2 separate regions of the Homo sapiens genome follow, and region 1 is linked to region 2. Evidence: promoter capture Hi-C in human tissues and cell types (Jung and others, 2019). All regions are on one chromosome and are shown on one strand. Each heading gives the region's core, a stretch centred on a gene start or on the middle of the fragment in contact. The rest is flanking DNA. Distances are from core to core; before and after follow the strand shown. Region 1 overlaps LSM12 (LSM12 homolog). Region 2 holds the start of DUSP3 (dual specificity phosphatase 3).

Region 1 (5,769 bases), core at 1,132-3,631, 280 kb before region 2:
ATATGCATTTTCTGCTTGAAGATCTAAAGTGTTTTTCAGATTCTCGGAGGGTTTCATGACTTAGAAAAGTTTGAAAGCCACTGTCTTAAAGGTTCTTTTTTGTCTTTATGTTTGAATTTTGAGTTCTAACAGTTACATGCTTAGCATATTTTAATCTTGCACATAAAAGTTGATCTCTGGGAACCCCCAAGTCACTTTTGTGTGTGTATGTGTGAGACAGGGTCTTGCTTTGTTGCCCAGGTTGAACTTGAACGCCTGGGCTCAAGTGACCCTCCTGCCTCGGCCTTCTGAGTAGCTGGGATTACATGCATGCGTCACCATGCCTGCCCAAGTCTTTCTTTTTATTGGAGCCACTGCGCCCGGCGTTTTTTTTGAGACAGAGTCTCTCTGTGTCGCCCAGGCTGGAGTGCAGTGACGCGATCTCGGCTCACTGTAACCTCCGCCTCCCAGGTTAAGTGATTCTCGTGCCTCAGCCTCTGGAGTAGTTGGGACTACAGGTGTGTGCCACGACGCCTGGCCAAATTTTTTTTTTTTTTGGAGACAGGCACACACTGTCACACCCGGCTAATTTGTTTTATTTTAGTAGAGACGGGGTTTCATTCTGTTGCCCAGGCTGGTCTTGAACTCCTGAGCTCAGGCAGTCTGCTTGCCTCGGCCTCCCAAAGTGGTAAGATTATAGGTGTGAGCCACTGCTCCTGGCTCAATTTTTGTATTATTAGTAGAGATGGGGTTTCACCATGCTGGCCAGGCTGATCTTGAACTTCTGACCTCAAGTGATCTGCCTGCCTCAGCCTCCCAAAGTGCTGGGATTACAGGTGTCAGCCACCATGCCCGGCCCTAAGTCACTTTTTTGACAATTCCGTTTATTTAGTCAAAATTGAAGTTGATCATAATAATGCCTCAAGCCCTGTCATAGCCTGTGCTGTCCCCTGTACTTGGAACATTTTTCCTTCCAGAATGACTGGAGCCTTACCACCCATCAGCACTCAGTTAAATGGCACGTCTTCCAAGAAGTCTTCTCTGATCACCCAGGCTGAAGTAATTTGCCTGCATTATTCTCTCTCATAGTACCTTGTCCTTCACAGTTAAGGTGACCATATCATTTGTAGTCCAACCTGGGACATTTTTGAGAGTAAAGGGGAATGCTTTTATTTTACACAGGGACAACAGGTATAGATTAGGTTACCCTATTCATAGCTTTTTTTTTTTTTTTTTTTTTTGAGACGGAGTCTCGCTTTGTCGCCCAGGCTGGAGTGCAGTGGCGCCATCTCAGCTCACTGCAAGCTCCGCCTCCCGGGTTCATGCCATTCTCCTGCCTCAGCCTTCCTAGTAGCTGGGACTACAGGCGCCCGACACCACGCCCGGCTAACTTTTTTGTATTTTTAGTAGAGACGGGGTTTCACTGTGTTAGCCAGGACGGTCTCGATCTCCTGACTTTGTGATCCGCCCGCCTCGGCCTCCCAAAGTGCTGGGATTACAGGCGTGAGCCACCGCTCCTGGCCATAGTTGTTTACTTGTCTAGTGTCTGTCTCACTAAACTTTATTCTGCAGGGATGGGGACCATACCTATTTTATTTACTATTGAATATACAGAGCCTTGCACAGAGTATTTAATAAATATTTGTTGGATGAATAAGATGCCTCCAATTTTAGTAGCAGGTGCTTTTCATTAAGTCTCTTGAATTAATGTGGTGGAAGTTTTTCCCTCTAGAGGAATCTTGCAATAATGTGTATTACTTTGCCTCTCTTGGGAATGTGGTGTGTTCTGTACAGTTCAGCAAAGCAAGGAAACACTTAGGCAACTAAAATAATAGAGGGTAACTGATGCTGAGGCTAGTGAATGTCGTTACCTCAGATCTGGAGTTCCTATCTTGTCAGATTCTAGGGAAATGCCACACATTTTTTAGTGATGGCCAGGGACAGATTTGGAAGGCTATTGAGTTCATATGGGTGTTGTCTTGTATGGGATGTCCCATTCTTTGAAGCTTATAGGTTTTTGAAACCTTGGCTTAGTAATATACCTTCTACCAGAGTATAGGAGCTCTTTGAGTGTCTTCTATAAGCTCATGAAATTTTAAGACTTGTTAAATAATTTATTCCTTGGTGTTTTTTTTTTTTTTTTTTGAGATGGAGTTTCGCTCTTGTTGCCCAGGCTGGAGTGCAATGGTGCAACCTCGGCTCACCGCAACCTCCGCCTCCCGGGTTCAAGTGATTCTCCTGCCTCAGCCTCCTGAGTAGCTGGGATTACAGGCATGCACAGCCACACCCAGCTAATTTTGTATTTTTAGTAGAGACGGGGTTTCTCCGTGTTGGTCAGGCTGGTCTCGAACTCCCGACCTCAGGTGATCCGCCCGCCTCAGCCTCCCAAAGTGCTGGAATTACAGGCGTGAGCCACTGTGCCCAGCATTATTCCTAGTGTATTAAAGAACCAAATAGGCTCTGAGTTATTTTTTGGTGTTTATAGGGTATGATAAGTCTGTCACTAGATCTTTAGTGAGTAGTAAAGATCTGAAAGAGAGGTGATTTTCTGAAGTTAGAAAGTTGGCTCTTGTGACCAATGAGTGCCACCATTTAGAGGGGGTGGGGTAGTGTGGATGGGACTGTTAAGCAGGAGCTGTTAAGAAGCAGTTCTCTTCTTATGTTTGACCTCAGGTAGATATAGCTCTTGGTTAGTTTGTGGATTATCTTTGCCTTTAGGGTTTTCCTTGTTTACTAGCATTGTTGTAAACTAGCTGATTACCCAGTTTTTGAGGAAAGCAGCAGGAAGTAATAGCTTGGGGAACACCAGAAATCTTTACTTTTCTTACTCTGTGGCCTGCTTGCCAAATCTTGAAAGAGGTTTGCTGGGAAGAGGAGTCAGAAACTAAAAACTAAAATTAGGTTGGAGGGTTATCTTTGGATTTCGTTTATTCATTCTTCCGTTTGCAGAGATGTTTATGAGTAAGCTATATTGGCTTTCCCTTGAAATCAACCTTTTAGGATGCTTTGCGATTCCTTTTTGGAGATTGACTTAGAATTAGAGAGAGCCTTTTGGGCTACTGCTGAAAACAGCTATTTCGGGCAGCTATTAACATGTTGCATGAATGACGTGAAAAGTTAGTCTCATTTTTAAGATCACGGACTTGAGTTTTTCTTAAGATGGAGGATCATTTAAGCATATGGAAGGGAACTAATGTACTCTGGGATGTCTGGAAGAAAACTGTTGAAGTTTCAGTTGCTTGCAGTCTGGAGAAGCACTAGCCTACTCTATTTATTTTATTTTATTTATTTATTTTTTGAGACGAAGTCTTGCTCTGTCGCCCAGGCTGGAGTGCAGTGGCGCCATCTCGGCTCACTGCAAGCTCCACCTCCCGGGTTCATGCCATTCTCCTGCCTCAGCCTCCCGAGTAGCTGGGACTACAGGCGCCCGCCACCATGTCCGGCTAATTTTTTTGTATTTTTAGTAGAGACGGGGTTTCACCATGTTGGCCAGGATGGTCTCGATCTCCTGACCTTGTGATCCGCCCGCCTCGGCCTCCCAAAGTGCTGGGATTACAGGCTTGAGCCACCACACCCGGCCTACTCTAACTTTAGTCAAAGGTATCATCACATATTGGCCCATCTTGCTGACATAGTAAGTGATCTGCTTAATTAAACCTGTTGATAAAAACCGGATATTTGTTGACTCTGACCTAGCAGGAAATGGAAGAGAAGGGCTTATACAGGAAATACTTAATAATAGCTCAACTAGGGAAGGTATAAACTAGCAACTTCTTGGAAATTGGCCTGTTTTGCTTTCGAATGATAGTTCACTTCAGGCTAAGAAGTCTTATTTCTATCTCCAGCAGTAGCATGTAAGAGGAAGCTTGAGAGAGGACAGTAGGGTTGCAGTAGGGGGAATTCTTTTTTTTGAGACAGGGTCTCAGTCCATTGCCCGGTGTGATCTCGGTTCAAGCGATTCTCCTGTCTCAGCCTCCTGAGTAGCTGGGATTACAGGCGCCTGCTGCCACCATGCCCGGCTAATTTTTCTATTTTTAGTAGAGATGGGGTTTTGCCGTGTTGACCAGGCTGGCCTTGAACTCCTGACCTCAGATAATCCACCTGCGTCGGCCTCCTAAAGTGTTAGGATTATAGGCGTGAGCCACTGCACCTGGCCAAGTCCCCTGTTTTTCTATTACTTTGTGTTTAGCCCAAGGAACTCATAGTTTGGCAACATGAAGTACCCTGAATAATGTACAATGCTAAGTTATGTTTCGTGTGTGTGTGTATGTGTGTGTGTGTGTTCTGTTTTTTAGAGATATAGTCTCATTCTGTTGACCAGGCTAGAGTGCAGTGGCATGATCATAACTCACTGCAGCTTCGAACTCCTGGCTCATAGCCTCAAGTGATCCGCCCAAGCTTCCTGAGTAGCTGGGACTACAATCTCCCATCACCACACCTGGGTGGTTGTTTTGTTTCTTTTTAGTTAGTCTCGCACTGTGCCCAGGCTGGAGTGCAAATGATGCAGTCACAGCTCACCGCAGCCTCGACCTCCAGGGTTCGCTCAAGTGATCTTTCCACCTCGCCTCCCAAGTAGCTGGGACTACCGGCACAAACCACCACACCTGGCTAATTTTTCTTTCTTTTTTGAGATGGAGTCTTGCCCTGTTGCCCAGGCTGGAGTGCGGTGGTGCCGTGATCTCGGCTCACTGCAACCTCTGCCTCCTAGGTTCAAGCAATTCTCCTGCCTCAGCCTCCTAAGTAGCTGGGATTACAGGCGTGCGCCACCATGCCTGGCTAATTTTTTGTATCTTTAGTAGAGATGGGGTTTCACCATGTTGACCAGGCTGATCTCGAACTCCTGACCTCATGATCCACCCGCCTTGGCCTCCCAAAGTGCTGGGTTTACAGGCGTGAGCCACCGCGCCCAGCCTAGTTTTTTTTTGTAGAGACAGGGTCTTACTGTGTGGCCCAGGATGGTCTGTAACTCCTGGGCTCAAGCAATCCTCCTTCCTCGGCTTCCCAAAGTATTCGAATTACAGGTATGAGCCACTGGCCCAGCCCCTAGGTAACGTTTCTAAGTAAAGAAAAACATCTATGTTCTGTGGTCAGGGGCAGGGTAGTCTAGTAGAAAAGACTTAGGAATGAACCAAGTAGATCAGTCTTTAAAGTCATTAGACTTGGCAGATGTTAGTTAATGTCTCCCAAATTATTATTATTATTATTATTATTTATTATTTTTTTTTTGAGACGGAGTCTTGCTCAGTCGCCCAGGCTGGAGTGCAGTGGCGCGATCTCGGCTCACTGCAAGCTCCGCCTCCTGGGTTCACGCCATTCTCCTGCCTCAGCCTCCCGAGTAGCTGGGACTACAGGCGCCCACCACCACGCCCAGCTAATTTTTTTGTATTTTTAGTAGAGACAGGGTTTCCCCGTGTTAGCTAGGATGGTCTCAATCTCCTGACCTCATGATCCCCCCATCTCAGCCTCCCAAAGTGCTGGGATTACAGGCGTGAGCCACTGTGCCCGGCCCAGATTTTTTTATTGTAGCTAACTAATGCTCATTGAATTATGGGATGAGATAAGGCAGGGGAAGGAGGGCATTGTGACAAAGGGCCCATAGAAGATTTATGCCATTACACTAGGCTCTCACTTAACGTCTTTGGTAGGTTCTTGGAAACTTTGACTTTATGTATTATTATTATTATTATTACTTTGTTTTTTTTTTGAGACAGAGTCTCCGTCTGTCTCCCAGGCTATAATGCAGTAGTGCTGTCTCAGCTCACTGCAACCTCTGCCTCCCAGGTTCAAGCA
Region 2 (5,451 bases), core at 1,457-3,956:
GAAAGGGGTGCATTGAGGGCCACAGTGGAGACTGGAAGCAGAACTTAAAAGACTGGGCGGCCGGGCACGGTGGCTCACGCCTGTAATCCCAGCACTTTGGGAGGCCGAGGCAGGCGGGAGGTAATGAGACTAAGACCATCCTGGCCAACATGGTGAACCCCTGTCTCTACTAAAAATATGAAAAATTAGCTGGGCATGGTGCCACATGCCTGTAATCCCAGCTACTCTGGAGGCTGAGGCGGGAGAATTGCTTGAATCTGGGAGGCGGAGGTTGCAGTGAGCCGAGATTGTGCACTCCAGCCTAGGCAACAGAGCGAGACTCCGTATCAGGGGGGAAAAAAACGACTGGGGGTGACGCGTGGGGAGGAGGAGTATTAACAAATCTTTGAGTAGATGGGTATTTAGAAGGCTCTGGGAAATTGAACCTCTTTAGGAAACAGACTGGAAGTCAATAAAATACATCTGCACATCTGCAAGCAGCAAGAACAAATACCTGTAGTTTGCTCAATTTTAAAATGTGATTTGTGTGCGCCACTGGAGGTTTGGTATCAACAGTAGGCTTCGCTAGAGAAGGGGGATAAAAGGGAACAATGTTACATCACAGGAATTCCAGTAGCGGCCTCAGAAAACCAGCACTAGACAATGTCCTTGACTAATGAACAATTTCGAATTAGGACCTTAATGCGACTCAAGAAGTTTGGTTTGATTTATCAAATGAACATCTCTGGAGAGTTTTGAGCAGAAACAAAAGAATAGTGAAAATAAAATTTACAGAGATAAATGTCCTTCTAATCCAATGAAAGAGCTTCTCTTCCAATCTTTTTCCAATATTATTAGCCTGTCTATTGGCTTCTGAAGTCTTATCCCCTTTCTAACGTACTTCGGCTTTAAGGAGTTTAAAGGAGTATTTCCATCCAGTGAACTCCCTGGTGGAAGATACATTTTGTTATTGGTGCTAATGCCCTCTTCCCCAAACTCAGCAGATAAGGCCATATCATCCCAAAGCTGTGACCTGGTCTGGTTTCCTGTTGATCTCTTTATGGGGTACCATTCCAAAATCCCTAATAGCAGTGTCCAGCCCAAACTGCCCACATACCTATTTGTATTCTATTCTTGTGAGATACGTAGTGGCCAAAGTCCAGTTTCTTTCTGAAGGTTGTGCTTTGCCTGTGATTAGAGACGATAACAGGGTAGGCCAGATAATCCAGGGAATTGTTCATCTTCTCTTCCTAGTCTCACTTCAGAAATGAGGTACCCAGACTCCTCTGTGAGGTGCCTAGCTGTCCCCATGACAAGCTGTCATAGTTACCCAGTTATGACATCAGGGACAGGTCCCGGGAAGGGAGTAGGAGCAGCAGAGCATGGCTGGCTGCCTCTGGGCTTGTGTTTTTAATGCTAACCTCGGCTCAAGTCAAGATGAAGGTCAAGGAACTCGAAAGCTTTCCCCGCTGCTTAGAATGCAGATGCTGCCAGCCAACACCAGAAGGAAAGAAGTGGTGCACCGGGAGGGGTGGGCAGGCACGGGGTGGGGTGAGGGATACAGAAATTCCAGCCTTGGTTACACATCTTGGGCTATCAGCTAAGTAGTCTCCACTGCAATAGCTCCCCTGAAGGTGCAAGACCACAAGTTTTGGAGGAGGAGAAAGTTGACCCTAATGATAATCGGATCCAATTCCTTTTGCAAATGAGGAAACTGAAGACCACAGCAGCAGCAACGTTACTCAAGAACCAAGTTGGTGGCAGGGCTGGGCTCAGGATGTGGGGTTCCTGAATTCAAGGCCAAATTTGCCCTTTTGCAGGAAGGAAACTGCCAGTTTTTCATGGCAGTAGGGGAGGGCAGCTTTCCTCCAGTACAGAGACTATCTTTTGTACTTAGTGGGAGTTCAGGAAATGCTGAGTGGCTTATGGTGGGCTGGCATCTGCTCCAGGAAGGGCTGCAGGAGTCTGATTTATCTCCACCCCAGCACAGGGTATAGCACCCACTGGGTGCTCAACGCATTTGTTGATGAAGGACTAACACCTATTGAGTGCTCGCCATGCAGTGCTGGGTGCCTTCTTTGAATGTCACATTTAACCCTTCCAGCAACCCTAGAATTAGGTACCATTACTATCCCGCTTTTTTTTTTTTTCCCTGCAAACAGGCTCAGGTTAAGTAATTCCTCAGAATTCCAAACCTGACTGCTTTTAAGCACGACGATGACTCTCAATGAATGTTGAAAGCAGATGCGCCCCAGAGTAGGGCTTCTCAGACTTTGACCGTAGGGACCTCCTGGGGTCCGTAAAATGTCCACTCTGATCCAGCAGGGCTGGGCTGGGGCGGGGATTCTGTCAAGCGCCCGGGTGGTGCCTCCACTGCAGGGAGCCGCTCACGAGCCGAACCCGGCGGTCCCTGTAATCATGAAAGACTGAAGCGACCCCTAGGTGTACCTCCGCCACGAAATGTTTATTGGGCCCTGCATTTAATTCAGGGAAGGAAGTTACCGCGCTTGCCAGTTTACAAAGATACACAAACGGCCTGGACCGGGATGGGGCGAGGACCCCTGAGACTCCAGGGCGGTGGCGTCTTCCCCCCGGGACGCGCCCAGGAGTGGCGCGCGGGGCCCCCGCGTCACGGCGCCCGCGCTCCGCAGCTCCCGGAGCCCGGCGGGCCCGCCCCAGGGGCGGGACGGGGCGGCTCCCGGCGCGAGCCCCCGCCCAGCTGATCCGCCGCTCTCCGCCTCGCTTGCTCCTGCCGGGCGTGCAGGGCCCCGCCGCCGCCATGTCGGGCTCGTTCGAGCTCTCGGTGCAGGATCTCAACGACCTGCTCTCGGACGGCAGCGGCTGCTACAGCCTCCCGAGCCAGCCCTGCAACGAGGTCACCCCGCGGATCTACGTGGGCAACGCGTGAGTCCCTTTCGCGAGCCCGGCCCCGCCGTCCCTCTCGGGACGCCCCGCCCACCCGAGGCTGGGGTCGGGGTGTCGCGAGTCTTGGGTTGGGGGAGCCCGGGCGCGATGGCCCCTCCGGGAGCCACAGCGGGGGCTTGGGAGGGGCCTGGAGTCGACGCCTACCCCCGCGCGTGGGGCCAAGGAACTGGAACCCTGCCTGGCCGGGCGCGGCCCTTCCCCGTGGCGGGGTGCACGGAGCCCGGGTGGCGCCTGCCCGGGTCCCAGCCGCCACCCGCTTGGGGCTTGGCCTTGGGCGGGGTCGGGGCTACCATGTTCACTTAACAGGTGACCCTCGGTCGCCCGGCCGGTCTCCTGCCCGCGCGTCATGTGACAGCTGCCTGGTTCTGCAGTGAGGTCACCGCGGAATGTCTGCCTTCGCCGCCATGGCAACGGGCCGACGTCACAATTCGGGCATGGAATTTTCCCGGCCCGGCAGTCCCGGATCAGGGAACCTAAACACCCCAAATGAGCGAGTCCGGGGAGCTGGGCCGGGATTTCCAGGCCCCCACCTTCCAGATGTGATTTGATTTACAGGAGATTCTAGAACGGTCCAGTGATAACCCCCCTAAGGACCTGAGCCACCACCTAGAAAAGGCTCTTGACCTTTCACCCCCAGGCTCTGTCACCCAGGCTGGAGTGCAATGGCGAGATCTCGGCTCACTGCAACCTCTGCCTCCTGGGTTCAAGCAATTCTCCTGCCTCAGCCTCCCGAGTAGCTGGGATTACAGGCGCCCGCCACCACGCCTGGCTACTTTTTGTATTTTTAGTAGAGACGGGGTTTCACCATATTGGCCAGGCTGGTCTCTTGGCCAGGCTGGTCTCAAACTCCTGACCTCATGATCCGCCCACCTCGGCCTCCAAAAGTGCTGGGATTACAGGCGTGAGCCACCGCACCCGGACAGTAAGAGATTTTTTTTAATTTAAATTTTAAATTTTTTTTCTAGTAAGAATGTCTAATCAGCAGGAAAGAACCAGTGTTAACATTCTGAGATGTGAAATAGGAGCCTCAAGAAAGAATATATTAGCATGCCTGTACAGCCTTGGAAAGCCTCAAGTTGGATTTTCACGATACTCTGAGGACCCAGTTACCAAAATCCTAAGCTTCATGGCTCAGCCCAAGGATGGCATGTTGAAAACTCAAAACTAACCCTCCTCCCATTTTACAGAGGAGGAAATGGTGGCTCAGAGTGTGTGAGGGACTACAAGGACAGGGTCAATGTCTTGTTCATGTATGTATTTCCTGACCTCCGCTATGACCTGCTGTTTAGCCTGCCAAGGACTGCCACGGAAATGGGGGTCATCATGGAACTAGAAGGGGTCCATCAGGCCCCAGCCTCATGGGGACAGTTCTCATCCATTCCATCATTCATTCACCAGTCTGAGCACCTGCTTTATGTCAGGCACTGTACAATGTTCATTCATAGTAGAGATAGTAATAATGATAATTGTAAATTTTTTGAATGTTGAATTATTAATAGTATTAGAGGCCTGGCACGATGGCTCACGCCTGTAATCCCAGCACTTTGGGAGGCCGAGGCGGGTGGGTCACCTGAGGTCAGCAGTTCGAGACCAGCCTGACCAACATGGTGAAACCCTGTCTCTACTAAAAATACAAAAATTAGCTGGGCATGGTGCCTGGCGCCTGTGATCCCAGCTACTCCGGAGGCTGAGGCAGGAGAATCGTTTGAACACGGGAGGTGGAGGTTACAGTGAGCCAAGATCGTACCGTTGCACTCCAACTGGGCAACAAGAGCGAAACTCCATCTCAAAAAAAAAAAGTATTAGAGAAGGGAGATGAATGGGAGTGACTCTTCAAAGTGTTTTTTTCTATCAGCCACTGCTTCACAGTCTTGCGCGGTGTCCTAAGCAGGAATAAACAGAGTCCCACAGTGTCAGCCAAAGGCTTCAGGAATTGGAAAGCTCTAGAGACACCCTTCCTCTTGCACCAAGCAGCAAGCAGGCCTTGTTAGCCTCAGGAATCCCGCTTGCTTGGGCAGGTTGGCCATTCAGCTGTCATCACTTCCCAAGTGGAAACCAAGGTTGTACACGTCTGGTGTAGCCAGAGTGGCAATTGCTGATGGCCACTGTAGAAAATACATCCCTTGCCCTCTAAGCACCTCTGACCTTGACTTGGCCAGGGGTGTGGGGGTTCCTCAACAGGGAGGATCAGTGAGCACCAAGCACCAAGAGGATTTGGGCTCCATTCCCTTAACAAAATCAGGGCCGCAGCCACGTCCTCACAAGGCAGAGCCAGAGCCTGTGTGAGCCACATGTGCCAGGCCTTGGGGGTTTTGCAGCAGATGTGGGCATGAGGGGCAGAGTGAGGTGGAAGATAGAGCAGGGCTGGATGTCGGGAGAAAGGAGGTCTTCTCCCAGATCTGCCACCAGCAGCACACGGGGCCTGTGCCCATCCCTCTGCTCATCCTGTTGGGCCTGAGTTCAAGCTCTGTTAAGCAGGGATATTGCCATCCTTGTTCCTCACAGGGCTGCTCGCAGTGGGCAAGCAAGATCACACAGGAGGTGGCA

What was found. The method cuts DNA at HindIII sites, captures the fragments that hold promoters and counts their contacts. A contact is called where the count stands out against the background at its distance.
Region 1: a contact is called between a fragment that was not itself captured here and the fragment with the promoter of DUSP3 in region 2, in 1 of the 25 tissues and cell types used here (dorsolateral prefrontal cortex).

Annotation. Positions count from the first base shown.
Region 1 is chr17:44,057,673-44,063,441 of GRCh38, reverse strand. All of the region lies in intron 2 of LSM12 (LSM12 homolog), which reads left to right. Among named protein-coding and RNA genes, the nearest start is that of LSM12, 6.1 kb to the left of the region's middle. The HindIII fragment of the contact is 3,461 bases long and covers 651-4,111 here.
Region 2 is chr17:43,776,232-43,781,682 of GRCh38, reverse strand. It overlaps DUSP3 (dual specificity phosphatase 3), which reads left to right and starts at 2,706. Exons shown (of 3, transcript NM_004090.4): 1 at 2,706-2,883. The coding sequence starts at 2,759. It overlaps CFAP97D1 (CFAP97 domain containing 1), which reads right to left and starts at 1,248. Exons shown (of 6, transcript NM_001136483.3): 1 at 1,097-1,248; 2 at 494-564. The coding sequence starts at 1,220. RefSeq lists a silencer at 2,526-3,215 and an enhancer at 3,148-3,442. The HindIII fragment of the contact is 3,419 bases long and covers 1-2,733 here.